Regions from separate parts of the Homo sapiens genome. Here region 1 is linked to region 2. Evidence: promoter capture Hi-C in 16 types of primary human blood cells and fetal thymus (Javierre and others, 2016). All regions are on one chromosome and are shown on one strand. Each heading gives the region's core, a stretch centred on a gene start or on the middle of the fragment in contact. The rest is flanking DNA. Distances are from core to core; before and after follow the strand shown.

Region 1 (7,149 bases), core at 2,621-5,120, 80 kb after region 2:
ATACCTCTTCATACCCTCTAGGATGGCTATAGCCAAAGAGATTGACAATAACAAGTTTGGTGCGGATGTAAAGAGACCAGAAGCCTCATACATTGCTGGTGAAAATGTAAAATGATGCAGCTGCTTTGGAAAACAGTCTGGCAGTTCCTCAAAAGGTTAAAGATAGTTACCATGGGTCTTAGTCCATTCATCTGGGCTGCTGTAACAAAATAAGGTAGACTGGGTGGCTTACAAGCAACAGAAGTTTATTTGTTGCAGTTCTGGGGACTGGGAAGCCCAATATCAAGGTTCTGGCAGATTTAATATCTGGTGAGATCCCATTTCCTGGTTCATAGATGGTACCTTCTCACTGTATCCTCACGTGATGTAAAAGGGCAAGGTAGCTCTTGGGGCTTCTCCTATGAACTAATGACCTCCCATAAGTCCCGAACTGCTAATATCATCACTTTGGGGGTTAGGATTTCAGCATATGGATTGTGGTGGAGGTGCAAACACTCAAACCATAGCACAGTATGACCCAGCAACTCCATTCTTAAGTATATACCCAAGAGAAATGAAAACATATGTTCATACAAAAACTTATACAGTTGTTTGGAGCCAGACTATTTGTAATAGCCAAAAAAATAGAAACAACCCAAATGTCCATCAGTTGATGATGGAAACAAAATGTGTTATATCCAATGAAATACTAGTCAGCCATAAAAAGGAATACTGGGCCAGGCATGGTGGCTTATGCCTGTAATCCAAGCACTTTGTGAGGCTGAGGTGGGAGGATCACTTGAGCCCAGGAGTTTGAGGCCAGCTTGGGCAACATAGCAAGATCTCATCTTTACAAAAAATAAAATATAATAAAATTCTGGCCCTGCGCGATGGCTCATGCCTGTAATCCCAGCACTTTGGGAGGCTGAGGCGGGCGGATCATGAGGTCAGGAGTTCAAGACCAGCCTGGCCAATATGGTGAAACGCCATCTCTACTAAAAAATAAAAAAATTAGACGAGCTTGGTGGTGCACGGCTGTAGTCCCAGCTACTTGGGGGGCTGAGGCAGGAGAATTGCTGGAACCCGGGAGACTGAGGTTGCAGTGAGCCAAGATCGCTCCATTGCTCTCCAGCCTGGGTGACAGAGCAAGACTCCATCTCAAAAAAATAAATAAATAATAAAAAAACAAAAAATTAGCCAGGCATGGTGGTATGTGCCTGTGGTCTCAGATACTTGGGAGGCTAAGGTGGAAGGATGGCTCAAGCCCAGGAGTTTGAGGTTTCAGTGAGATATGAATTTGTTGCTCATTCTGAGCAACAGAGCAAGACCTTGTCTCCATTAAAAAATAATAATAAGGCCGGGTGCAGTGGCTCATGCCTGTAATCCCAGCACTTTGGGAGGCCGAGGCAGGCAGATCATGAGGTCGGGAGTTCAAGACCAGCCATGGTGAAACCCCGTCTGTACTAAAAATACAAAAATTAGCCTGGCGTGGTGGCACACACCTGTAATTCCAGCTACTCGGGAGGCTGAGGCAGGAAAATCGCTTGAACCCAGGAGGCAGAGGTTGCAGTGAGCCGAGATCGTGCCACTGCACTCCAGCCTAGGCGACAGAGCAAGATTCCATCTCAAAAAATAATAATAATAATAAAATGTGATCATAATTTGAGAAAGGCTGCTCATTCTAACCATACATAAAAACAAGGAAAGCAGCAATATTATTGTAAAAACCCACCAACTGTTTCTTTTCTCCATTGCCAACGTCGGATTGGGCAAATCCTACCTTAAAAAGCACTGGCTTGCCTCGGTTTATTTTGCATCATCCAAAGGCCCTCTAAGGATCTCTGACTCACAGACCCTCACCCCAGACAGGTTTTATACACAGGCTCTCCCAGTCTCTTTCTTCCCATGGAACTCCAGTGAGATTGGGCTCATTTCTATCCCTCAGTTAACAGAGAGCCGATCAGGAGTGACTGACAGAAATCATCCACCAAAAATAACCAAGCTTGCCCGAGGAAAGTAACTTTCTTTCCATGCTTCTTCCTCTAAACCTAGTCTCTTTTAAGTAAAATAGTCTGACTCTTATAAGAATAAAACTAAAGGCCGGGCATGGTGGCTCACGCTTGTAATCCCAGCACTTTGGGAGGCCGAGGTGGGTTAACCACGAGATCAGGAGATCGAGACCAGCCTGACCAACATGTTGAAACCCCGTCTCTACTAAAAATACAAAAAATTAGCCAGGCATGTGGCGCATGCCTGTAATCCTAGCTACTCAGGAGGCTGAGGCAGGAGAATTGCTTGAACCTGGGAGGTGGAGGTTGCAGTGAGCTGAGATGGCACCACTGCACTCCAGCTTGGGCGACAGAGTGAAACTCCGTCTCAGGAAAAAAAAAAAAAAAGAGGAAGAAAACTACCAGCTCCAGGTAAAAGGCAACACTATTGTTGTTACCGCCTTCTCCAGGACAGGAAAGGCAAGCCCAGGGTGAATAAGCAACTTTTGGGCACCTACTAAATGGCAGGCCCTGTGAGGCAGACACAAAGTCACAATTGATGCCCTCAAGAAGCTTGCATTCGGCCGGGCGCGGTGGCTCACGCCTGTAATCCCAGCACTTTGGGAGGCCGAGGCGGGTGGATCATGAGGTCAGGAGATCGAGACCATCCTGGCTAACAAGGTGAAACCCCGTCTCTACTAAAAATACAAAAAATTAGCCGGGCGCGGTGGCGGGCGCCTGTAGTCCCAGCTACTCGGGAGGCTGAGGCAGGAGAATGGCGTGAACCCGGGAAGCGGAGCTTGCAGTGAGCCGAGATCCCGCCACTGCAGTCCGCAGGCCAGCCTGGGCGACAGAGCGAGACTCCGTCTCAAAAAAAAAAAAAAAAAAAAAAAAAAAAAAAAGAAGAAGCTTGCATTCTAGTGGGAAAACAGAAATGTAGTTAGTTTCATTATAAAACCACAAAGTAAATATTAAACAGGGATAGGAACAGTTTGTCCTGACTGCAGGAGTGATTACTTCTGACTTGGAAATCAGGAAAGGCTTCATGTCTGTTGTACCTGGCTTACACTTGGAAGGATATGCGTGATTTTCATAGAAGAGTTGGAATGAGCATAGCAGGCTAGAGGGAACAGCATGAGGGATACATGAAAATAAATAACAACTACAATGCATAGTACATCAGGTGTAGGGCAGGATCTGGAAGAGAAATGTAATCAGGATCAGATTGAAAAAGGTTGTAGTTCCATGCTTGTGTTTGGACTTTGTACTTATTGGTGGCATCATAGAGGGCTTTTTTTGGCAATAAGAAGTTTGGAGGCTGAGCATGGTAGCTTACGCCTATAAACCTAGCACTTTGGGAGGCCGAGGCAGGAGGATTGCTTGAGGCCAAGAGTTCAAGATCAACTTGGCCAACATAGCGAGACCCTATCTTTTAAAGTACTTTTTTTAGGAATTTTTATTTTTCAAAAAAAAATTTGAAGCCAATACATCTGCCAGGACCCCTGCAATGATGATGGGGAGTTACTCAAGCAGTGAAAGTAGGAATAGAGAGAACAGACAAGATATGGTAGAATTGACTGAATATGGAAAACTAAACCAGAGAAGGGTCAAAACATGATTCACCCTCCAATACCCAACAATTTATGGGGATCTTTTAGAGCCAGCCATTTAGTGCCCCCTGGTGGACAGATGAGACCATCACAGCATTAACAGCAACAAGTCACTTAGGCTGTTTCATTCTTCCAGTAAAAAGTTTATATTGAACACTATCCAGACCCTCACTAATCAGCCTCTGCAGAAGCCACAGAGATCACGGCACTATTTTAGGTGAATCTAGTTAGGAGAAAAGATAGACCTCAAATGCCTAACCCATAACAGAAAGTAGAATAAATGACCAAATCCTAAAATATGTGGTGGATAACACTGACATGAGATTTTAGAAAATACTGCAATTTGAGAGGTGGGTTAAGGCTTCAGATATAACAGAGTTTTTTGTTTTGTTTGTTTTGAGACAGAGTCTCGCTCTGTCACCCAGGCTGGAAGTGCAGTGGCTGAGTCTCAGCTCACCTCAATCTCCACCTCCTATGTTCAAACGATTCTCCTGCCTTAGCCTCCAGAGTAGCTGGGACTACAGGTGCATGCCACCACACCTGGCTAATTTTTGTATTTTTAGTAGAGACGGGATTTCACCATGTTGGCCAGGCTGGTCTCAAACTCCTGACCTCAAGTGATCCGCCCACCTCTGCCTCCCAAAGTGCTGAGACTGCAGGTGTGAGCCACTGCGCCCGGCCACAGAGCCATTTCTTTAACATATGATTTTTGAAGAGCATCCAGGTCAGAGGCAATTGTGAACAAAACATCCTGAGAAGTAAATGAAAAAATAGTAAGGTTGAAATACTAAGAAATTCTATAGGTAATGAAGTCTGAAGGTTCAACCTGGCTAGTGATGTAGTGTTCAAGTTTTAAGACCAATCTGACACTGGAATAAAAAATGGAGAAATTAGGATGCCCAAGACAAAATTTAGATATGAAAACAGTGAAAGCCAGTTGTGAAGTCCTAATAAACTAATCCTGGCCAGGAGCTGTGGCTCACGCCTATAGGAAGGCCAAGCCAGGAGGACTGCTTGAGCTCAGGAGTTTGGGACAGCCTGGGCAACACAGCAAAACTGTCTCTACAAAAAATTAGCCAAGTGTGAAGGCAGGCACCTATAGTCACAGCTATGTAGGACACTGAGGTGGGAGGATCACTTGAGCCCGGGAGGTTGAGGCTGCAGTGAGCCACTGCACTCCAGCCTGGGTGACAAAGCAAGACCATCTCAAAAAAATAAATGATCCAATTAATATAAGTTAGCTGGACACATTAAATGGTTACTGCATGGTTGGAAAAACAAGCTTTCCGATTGTCTCTTAGCTAAGTGTATTTTGTCTTCTGCATTTCTTGGGCCCACCTTGAGGTAGAAAAGGTAGCTGGGTGCAGTGGTTCACACTTGTAATCCCAATACTTTGGGAGGCTAAGATGGGAAGATTGCTTGGTCAACATAGCGAGACCCCAAAGACAAGGTTACCCAGACCCCAATCCAAAGCTCTAGGGCTGCAGGCATGGATAGTTCATTTGCACGTAAGCTGTATCAGGAGCACACAAAAGCGCCATTAGGTCAGTAATTCGGCTATTCCTTTTTTTATTTTGAGACAGTTTCACTCTGTCACCCAGGCTGGAGTGCAGTGGTGTGAACTTGGCTCACTGCAAGCTCCACCTCCTGGGTTCACGCCATTCTCCTGGCTCAGCCTCCCGAGTAGCTGGGACCACAGGCACCCGCCACCTCGTCAGGCTAATTTTCTGTATTTTTAGTAGAGGTGGGGTTTCGCCATGTTAGCCAAGATGGTCTTGATCTCCTGACCTCGTGATCTGCCCACCTCAGCCTCCCAAAGTCCTGGGATTGTAGCAGTGAGCCACCATGCCCGGCCCAATTCAGCTATTCTTTTACTTTCCCAGGCTTATTTCTCTCTCAAATGCCAATCAGGGTTACATGTTATCCAGAAAACCTATCATTCTCAACTAAACACATAATGTTCCTGCTAGTTGTAATGTAATTCCTACTCCTTAATTCACAAGTGGCAACCTCCCTTCCACAACACCAGTACTTCTACCACAAGGCAGAATTAATAGCCATCTGCGATCTAAGAGAGAATAGGAAGATAAATAATCCTTACACCCAAAAGGCCAAACAATTTTTATTTTCAAAAACAACTTTATTCATGACACATATTAAAAAAAAATTCCCACCCCTGGAAATGAGCTAAAAAAATAAACAAAATCCACCTCCCACCTCCCTGTTCCCACTTCCTCCCATTCCCTCCAAATAAAAGGGAAAAAAGGCAAAGGAAAAAAAAAAAAAACAAAAAAACAAAACAACTGAAAAACAAAAACACCCCTAAACCCCCCAAAACAAGGTAGTGCATTTCCCCAGGGGGAAGGGGAATTTACACTGGAGCCGCTGGGAGCGGAACGGAGATCTTCCGGCTACAGAAACCTGCAAAGAAAGACACTCAAAACAGAAAAAGAAACACAAAAGGAAACAAAATAGATCACCAGGCAATCTGGAGGGGCAGGGAGCCGGAGAAGAGGGGTGGGGTGGGTGGTAGACCTGGCTGGACAGGAGCAGGCAGGAGGGGACTGTGAAAGGCGAGGAGAAGACGGAGGGAAGGTAACAAGCAGAACAGTTTGGTGTCCTTCCAGAGCCCTGGGTAAAAAAAAAAACCTCCTACCACCCACGCCCACCTACCCTTGAGCAGCCCCCAAGGGGGTGAAGTGGGGCAGGGAAACATGGGCAGCAGCTTGCGCAGTTGAGACGTGTCCATGGCGAATCCCCAGAGTGAATAAGCAGCCCCCTGCCCCACTCCCTGGGCCTTCCCCTACTCCCCAAAGCAGGTCCCTCCTCAGCAGTTAGTTATGGGATTCTCCCCCCTTCCACAGTATATCTTTTTTTTAAAAAATATTTTTTTTCCATCAAGGTCATCTTCTGTTTTTCTTTTTTTTTTTTTTAATTCTTTTTTTTTTCCTTCTTTCCTCTTTTTTTCCTCTCTCTCCTCCTAATACACACTTTTTTTAGTAAGGGGAATACCATGATGTCGCTCTAGCCCGGCCCCTGGAAGAAAGAAGGAGAGTTAGGTGTTAACGTGATCACTAGATAGTTCAGTACAAGCCCCTCCCCGTAGGCCCCTGCCCCAGTTACTGTGAAGGGAAGGGGGGAAAAGAAGTGTTCAAGTGTCCTAAAACTGACCCCATGATCCCAGAAATAGTAACGCACCTGGAGAACTGGGGCAGGGGGAGGGGGGCTTAACAGAAAACTGCCAAACAGTGGCGAAAAAGAAGCGCATCTGAGTGAGAGACAGGGGCAAGGAAAAGGACCCCCTTTTTATCCAGTTTTCAGTCCTCCACAGCTCTTAAACCCTAGGCCATCACAAATAGATCCTCCCTAACTCCTGGGGATAGGCAGGTAGAGCTTATGAAAAGCCAAGGTTTATATGCCTAACCCGTCTATTTAAATGTAGAGACAGAAGTGAAGCAAGGCAAAAACCTGGGCACCACACTAGGCCCAGTGAGAAGTTAACCTTGCAAGACTGGCTCAAATAAAGAATAAGTATCTCAAAATCCTCCCACAAGGCTGTTGGGGAGGATCAA
Region 2 (6,979 bases), core at 1,207-3,706:
CCAGGGCGAGAGAAGAGGCCAGCTCGGAGAGGGCAGAGCCTCATGTTAGACCCTGAGCCGGGTGGAGACACGGGCCAGGGAGAATCGGAGGCAGGCCCCACTCTGAGATGGAGAAGCAGGCAGAGGGAATGAAGGTGAGACAGAGACAGATGCAACGGGGAGCCAGGCAGAAGACAGGCAACCTGTGCCAGGGAGGCCAGCCTTGCCTCCTTGGCACCCTCACCTGTGGCCGAAGCCTCCATCCCTGTCCTTATATTCCAGGACTCCCAGCAGAATGAGGAGCTGTGTGCAAGGCAGCTTAGGGAGGACGGAGAGCAATATGTGAGAGCAGGGAGAGAAGGAGCCTGGGGAAGGGAGAGGACGGTACAGCGGAGCAGACGGGCAGGGCCTGGGGCTGAGTGAACACCTTCCTTCCTCCTCCTTCCACAGGAGCGGGGGACTACCCCCCACCACCTCCACTCCCCGCTGCCCTGCCACCACCACCTATACCAAGTGAGGCCTGCTCAGAGCACAGGGTTCCCTGAGGACAAAGCCTGGTCTTTGTCACCTGACCCCGACCCAGACTGACCTGGCGTTCTCAGCTCCTTATCATGTCCCCAGAGCTATGGGAACCAAGCAGTGACGCACTGGCCATGGGCTAACCCCCCGGCTCGAATTCTGGGGCCTCGAGTAACCTAGAGCTGGGGACAGGTGGCCTGCATCCCCTGGGGGTAATGATTTGGCATAAGCACCTGCAGAAGATGGGGATGTGGGGTCAACTAAGGTCCCTCCAAGGACATTGAGAAAAGGTCCAAATGCTCTGGAAAGAGAGGTGTGTTCCTGAGCCCAGGAATGGGGTGGCAGCGTCCTAGGGAGCTAGGGGAGAGGCCACATCTTAATGGAAAGTGCTCCTACCCAGAGAAGCTGACCCCTGTCGTCCTACCCACCTCCACACCCTGGAGCTATATTGAGAGGTGACAGTAAACTGGTGGGAGGGGGGCTGGGAGGGTGTTCCTGGGTGTGAGGGTGGGGGGAAGGCCAGAGCAGGGGAGTCTGGCTTTGTTTCCTGAACACAATGTCCACTTAGTCATAACAGGAACAGCCTGCTGAAGACCTGACACCTACAGCCTCTGAGAGATGGCAGCATTGGAGGATGGGGAGCGGGGCCTTGAGGGCCTAGGGTGCTTGAGGACACCCACAAAGAAGGGAATGTGAGTATAAGCCCTGGAGGGCTTGGAAAGGGGCAACAAAATTCTGCCTGGGGAGGGGGCAGGTGGCAGAGCCCCACCCCGATGGAATGCAGTGCCTGGGGACCAGATGGTGTAAATCCCCAGGCCTGCCAGGCACCTGCACCCTCTGGCAGCCCGGTGAGGCAGAAGGGGACAGCCCCTCACCCACCCCCCTCCTCTCTCAGGCCCTAGGATTAGCACCATCTTCTTCTGCCCACCCCACCCCAGGAGCAGAGGGTAGCAGGGGAGGGCAAAAGCCTATGTGTGCAAATGCGGATGTGCAAATGTGTGCATCCATGTACACAAAAGAAAGTAGAAAAGAAATCTGCAAGCTTGAGTGGGTAAGTGTGAAAAATCTGCATGTGTGGCTGAAGATGGGCACAGACACGGTCAAGTCTGTATGTGAGAGTGCTGAACTGGGGTTCTGTGTGAAAATCTGCCTGAGGCGGCAGGGAGAATCACTGCCATTGCGTGAGCAGGTTGGATGTTGGCCACTCTATCAGGAGCATTAGGGAAGGGGTGGGGACTCCAGACGTGTCCCCAAACCAGGGTGGCCTCAAGACCTTGGGAGAACACTTGTCTGAAGACTTGGGGAACAGAAGGAGACCAGGCATGGCACTTATGCAGACTGAGGCCAGGACAGAATTTCCTGACAAAAGAAAACTGAGCCATGGAGATGGACAACAGATCCCTTCCCTGGGCACCATACTGCAGCTTTTAGTCCCTAGCACTGGGGGCTCCAGTACTAACAGCAGGAAGATGCTCCCAGCCTGGGACTGTGTGAGGGAGGTCAGAATGGGAAGGAGAGGCTGGGGAACAGGGGAGGAAAGCCCATGGTTGGGAGGCGGAGGACAGGCATTTGGCCTGCAGGAGAAGGTGACCCTCACCCATGTTTTCAGTTCACCCTTCGGGTTAAAAATAACTGAGGTAAGGGCCATGGCAGGGTGGGAGAGGCGGTGTGAGAAGGTCCTGTCTTCCCACTATCTGCTCATCAGCCCTTTGAAGGGGAGGAATGTGCCCAAGGACTAAAAAAAGGCCGTGGAGCCAGAGAGGCTGGGGCAGCAGACCTTTCTTGGGCAAATCAGGGGGCCCTGCTGTCCTCCTGTCACCTCCAGAGCCAAAGGATCAAAGGAGGAGGAGCCAGGAGGGGAGAGAGGTGGGAGGGAGGGTCCCTCCGGAAGGACTCCAAATTTAGACAGAGGGTGGGGGAAACGGGATATAAAGGAACTGGAGCTTTGAGGACAGATAGAGAGACTCCTGCGGCCCAGGTAAGAGGAGGTTTGGGGTGGGATGCCCTGCAGCCCGTCCACAGAGCCCCCACCGTGAGGGACCTCCTTCACCAGGAGTGGGGTGCAGGTCAGTTGGAGGCCTAAGGGCTCTATTAAAACTGCCTATCTCCAGGCCCAGGGAAGTTCCCCCTGACACAAGGAGGTTCCACAGGAAACCCAGAAACCTCTTTTCTCCTTCTCTGACTCTCCATTTCTTTCTCTGCATCATTCTGAGTCTCCTACATGTTGTCTCCATCTTTCCATCTTCCTTCCTCCTTTGGATGGCTTCCTTCCCTTGATCCTGGTTTTATCTTGCCTCTTGGTCTTCATCGACACTTGTCACAATCATGCTTCTTTGTCTCTCTCCCTTGTCCTTCCTTCTTGGCACGTGTTCTCACCTCCCTGCCTCTCTGCTTCTAACCCTGTTTCCACACCCCGTCCCTCGCACTCATATTGACTCGGTGCCCTTTCTTTTCTGCCTCTGCGTCTTTCCCTTTCTGACTCCCTGGTCTGTCCTGCCTGTCTGCGCTCTGGGGCTGCCTCCATCCCCGGGTGGCCTGCCTCTGTTGTTCTTCACTCTCCTCATCTGTTCTTCTCTCTGCCCGGCTCTACCTCTGTTGTTCCTTGCTCCACCCACGGTCCAGATTCTTCAGGATTCTCCGTGAAGGGATAACCAGGTGAGAACTGCCCCCATTTTCTCTGCAGAGACTGGGGCATGCTTCTCCTGGGAGCCGGATTGCTGGACCAGGGGTCTGCTGTCCCAAGCACTCAGCGCCAACCCTTAGCATACTCCAGCCAATGCCACCCCAGGGAAACCCCTTACAGAGATTGTCCTTCAGCATCACCTCAGAGGGCAGGAGAAGCAGAGCCCTGAGTAGGGGAGGGTGCAACAGCAGGTGCCTCTCCCAGGGTGGAGGAGAGGAGCGGGGGTAGGGAGGGGGGCTGCAGAGGACAAAGCCACTCGCTGGAGCCTGGGCTCCCTCAGGAGTAACATAGCCCTCCTGTCTCTGACCCAGGGGAAGCACCAAGATGACCGATGCCCAGATGGCTGACTTTGGGGCAGCGGCCCAGTACCTCCGCAAGTCAGAGAAGGAGCGTCTAGAGGCCCAGACCCGGCCCTTTGACATTCGCACTGAGTGCTTCGTGCCCGATGACAAGGAAGAGTTTGTCAAAGCCAAGATTTTGTCCCGGGAGGGAGGCAAGGTCATTGCTGAAACCGAGAATGGGAAGGTGAGTAGGGCATGGCGCCGGGGCAGAAGGGAAGGAGGTCTGGGAAAGAAGATGCAGAGGTGGAGCCACTTGCAGGGGGAGCTGAGAGGGCTGGAGAAAAGCCAAGGCCAGTGGGGATGCCAGGACATGCTCCTTTGAGGAGCCCAGAATCTGATCCCTCTCAAATTGACCTGAGCTGGTGCAACAGGTGCCACCCAGGGCCATGTTCCCCCTGCCAGAGAGGATGCTGAGGAAGAAGAACCTCAGTGTTCGCCTAAGAGGGGTCTTGTAGATAAAGAGGGCACAGACACAGCATTAAATGATGCCCCCTTCTTGCACTTGTATCCCTCTTCCCTGTGCCTCAGTTTCCTCCATGAGTCCACTTTCTCAAATTCCGTTCACCCAAATCAAGAGTAATTCTTAGACCCAGATGAACACAAAGATCAGAAACTTTTGAGCTGAGCACTCTCCTTGACTGGCACTCAGAAGCTCTGGTCCCTGGTTTGCTCACACCAGCCAAGAGAATCACCCCTGGTTACCAGCTGCGGCTCAGGGCTGTGTGCCTCATGAACTCGTTGACTGAATGTTACAACCCATTGAAGTGTAGAATAACAGGCCACAATCCCCTGGGGCTTTTGACTCTGATCCCAGCTCTGCCACCCGCTAGTCACTGTGCAGGCAAATCATTTAGTCATTTAGAGCCACGGATTTCTCCACTATAAAAAACACTGGAATACCTACTGGCAGGATCTAATGACATCAGGGCATGGCAAACTGACTGCTGCCAATCAAACCACACCAACAGTGATGGATGGGGAGTGTGGAGTAGATGGGTGAACTACTTTTCCAGCAGGGGTGAAGGTTTGCCCTGAGCAACAGATACCCTAAAGCGCTGCCCGCGGGAGACAGCCTCGGGGTCAGCATAAGGTGTGCACAGATCTGAGAGCTGCCAATCTCCAGGTCTGCCCCAAGACCCTTGGAACATAGGGACTGAAGAGTGATGGTCATGGGCACAGGGTGTCCCCAGGATGGTCTGGGGATCTGGCAAGAGAAAGGTACCCTAGGACAGTCTCTAGGATGGGAGATACAATGGGAAGGGAAATTACCTGGGGAAAGTGTCCCAGGGGACATCGGGGTAGGGGCCGGGGCACTGGTCAGAGCAAGGGGAGCAAGGCCAAGTCCCTGTGTCCTGGGAGGAGGTCAGTGGGCAGTGCTGGCAAGGGTCCCGGAGGGATTGTGGTCACTCATCCTCCTGCTTATGCGCCCCCTCCAGACGGTGACTGTGAAGGAGGACCAGGTGTTGCAGCAGAACCCACCCAAGTTCGACAAGATTGAGGACATGGCCATGCTGACCTTCCTGCACGAGCCCGCGGTGCTTTTCAACCTCAAGGAGCGCTACGCGGCCTGGATGATATATGTGAGTGGCTCCTGCACACTGCAGAGGCTTCCTGTGCTGCGTGGAGGCCTAAATAAGCCAGGGGGGCTCTCCCAAGAAGAGGGGGAGAGACTCCCAAGGGACCCAAGTCCCCTTCCCCCCTCCACCCCTAGTCAGCTGCAGGAGGAGTAGAGCCAGCTGGAGTGAACAGGGACATGCCTGGCTGCCACCACTGCCTGTCCCAGGCTCTCCCCACCAACCTCATGCCCAGCCTTGTCTCCTGCTCCAGACCTACTCGGGCCTCTTCTGTGTCACTGTCAACCCCTACAAGTGGCTGCCGGTGTACAATGCCGAGGTGGTGGCCGCCTACCGGGGCAAGAAGAGGAGTGAGGCCCCGCCCCACATCTTCTCCATCTCCGACAACGCCTATCAGTACATGCTGACAGGTGAGCCTGGTGGCCCCTGGTCTCTGCTCCTCCTCCCAGACACCCACCCAGATCCTCAGCCCTGACCCCATTGCTTCTCCTCTTTTTTCTTCCAGATCGGGAGAACCAGTCCATCCTCATCACGTGAGCGAGTGCCATCCTCCCACAGAAGGGACTGGGCTGGGGGCATACACGCTGATGCCTAGGGTGTAGTTGGGAGGAGAGGTTTAAGGCTGGGATTGCAGGGAGCATGGGGCACTGAGCTCTCATTAGAGGGGTGCCAGAGCAATGAACCATGTCAGGCAAATCCTGCTGGGTGCTGGGCTCTGATGGCCAGGCTGGGAAGGGGAGCATGTGATGCTGAGCCCTGTATGGAGAACAGTAGGAATCCTGAGTTTTGATTGGTCTCTGTGGCCCCCAGGGGAGAATCCGGGGCGGGGAAGACTGTGAACACCAAGCGTGTCATCCAGTACTTTGCCAGCATTGCAGCCATAGGTGACCGTGGCAAGAAGGACAATGCCAATGCGAACAAGGTGCCATGGGGGACACAGGCTCGGCAGAACAGGGGTTGGGGGGCAGGCTGACCCGAGTTACCCCTAACCCTCCCCTCCCTGTGACGTGGTGGGGACAGCCACACTGAGCTGGGCTCCCGATGGTCAGCCCAGTATGGAAGACCTTCCTGACAGGAGACACTCACCCTGAGGTCTGGGTAGGATCCTGTGGAGTCGCAGACCCACTAGCGGTTCACCCAGCCCCGCACCCCCATTCCTCAGGGCCAGGGCAGCCTCCCTGCCCTCTCACCACTGCCTGGAGGTGGATGGAGGATGAACCCATGCAGTTCTGCTCCTTTCATAGGGCACCCTGGAGGACCAGATCATCCAGGCCAACCCCGCTCTGGAGGCCTTCGGCAATGCCAAGACTGTCCGGAACGACAACTCCTCCCGCTTTGTGAGTGCCTTTGACCACTCCCAGTGGCCTCATCCAGCCTTGACAAGAAAAAGGGGGTGCTGTTTTGCCACACCCAGTTGATTGTACTGTATCTGGCTTTGGGATATCAACATGCACACGTTGGTGGGAAGAGAGCATAGGCTTTGGAGCCAAAGGTCTGACTTTCCACTTGCTCAGCAAGTCCTTACACCTCTCTGAGCCCTAGTTCCTTCACCTGTGAAACAGGGGGACTAATATCCACCCTGCAGATTACTGGGAGGATTAGGTGAGATCATATGAGAGGTATGAGCAGGAGGCATTCTGTATGTGTTCCCCTCTGGGCCGAGGTTCCACTAGGAGGTCCCTGCACAGTGTGTGAGGGTGGCATCCTCTGCCCGGCTTCACTTATACTCAACTGAGACACCAAAGAGGTCGTTTACATTTCCAGAACCATCCAGGGCTTCTGGGCTGAACAGAGGGCCAGGATTTCACTCTGTCCTTCCCGCCAGTTCCCTCACTCTGTCCCATTCGTCCCCAGGGGAAATTCATTAGGATCCACTTTGGGGC

What was found. Contacts are between HindIII fragments. The CHiCAGO score rates a contact against its expected background, and 5 or more counts as called.
Region 1: a fragment that was not itself captured here is called in contact with the fragment with the promoter of MYH6 in region 2 in 1 of 17 cell types (megakaryocytes); the score reaches 6.0 in megakaryocytes.

Annotation. Positions count from the first base shown.
Region 1 is chr14:23,324,711-23,331,859 of GRCh38, reverse strand. It overlaps BCL2L2-PABPN1 (BCL2L2-PABPN1 readthrough), which reads right to left. Exons shown (of 8, transcript NM_001387346.1): 8 at 5,697-7,149. PABPN1 (poly(A) binding protein nuclear 1) reads right to left here. Exons shown (of 7, transcript NM_004643.4): 7 at 5,697-6,613. The coding sequence ends at 6,574. Among named protein-coding and RNA genes, the nearest start is that of PABPN1, 6.8 kb to the right of the region's middle. RefSeq lists a silencer at 3,578-3,667. The HindIII fragment of the contact is 1,983 bases long and covers 2,879-4,861 here.
Region 2 is chr14:23,403,750-23,410,728 of GRCh38, reverse strand. MYH6 (myosin heavy chain 6) reads left to right here and starts at 2,456. Exons shown (of 39, transcript NM_002471.4): 1 at 2,456-2,476; 2 at 3,121-3,153; 3 at 3,493-3,706; 4 at 4,959-5,102; 5 at 5,350-5,506; 6 at 5,602-5,629; 7 at 5,907-6,018; 8 at 6,341-6,433; 9 at 6,951-6,979. The coding sequence starts at 3,506. RefSeq lists enhancers at 3,103-3,603, 1,286-6,161. The HindIII fragment of the contact is 15,953 bases long and covers 1,543-6,979 here.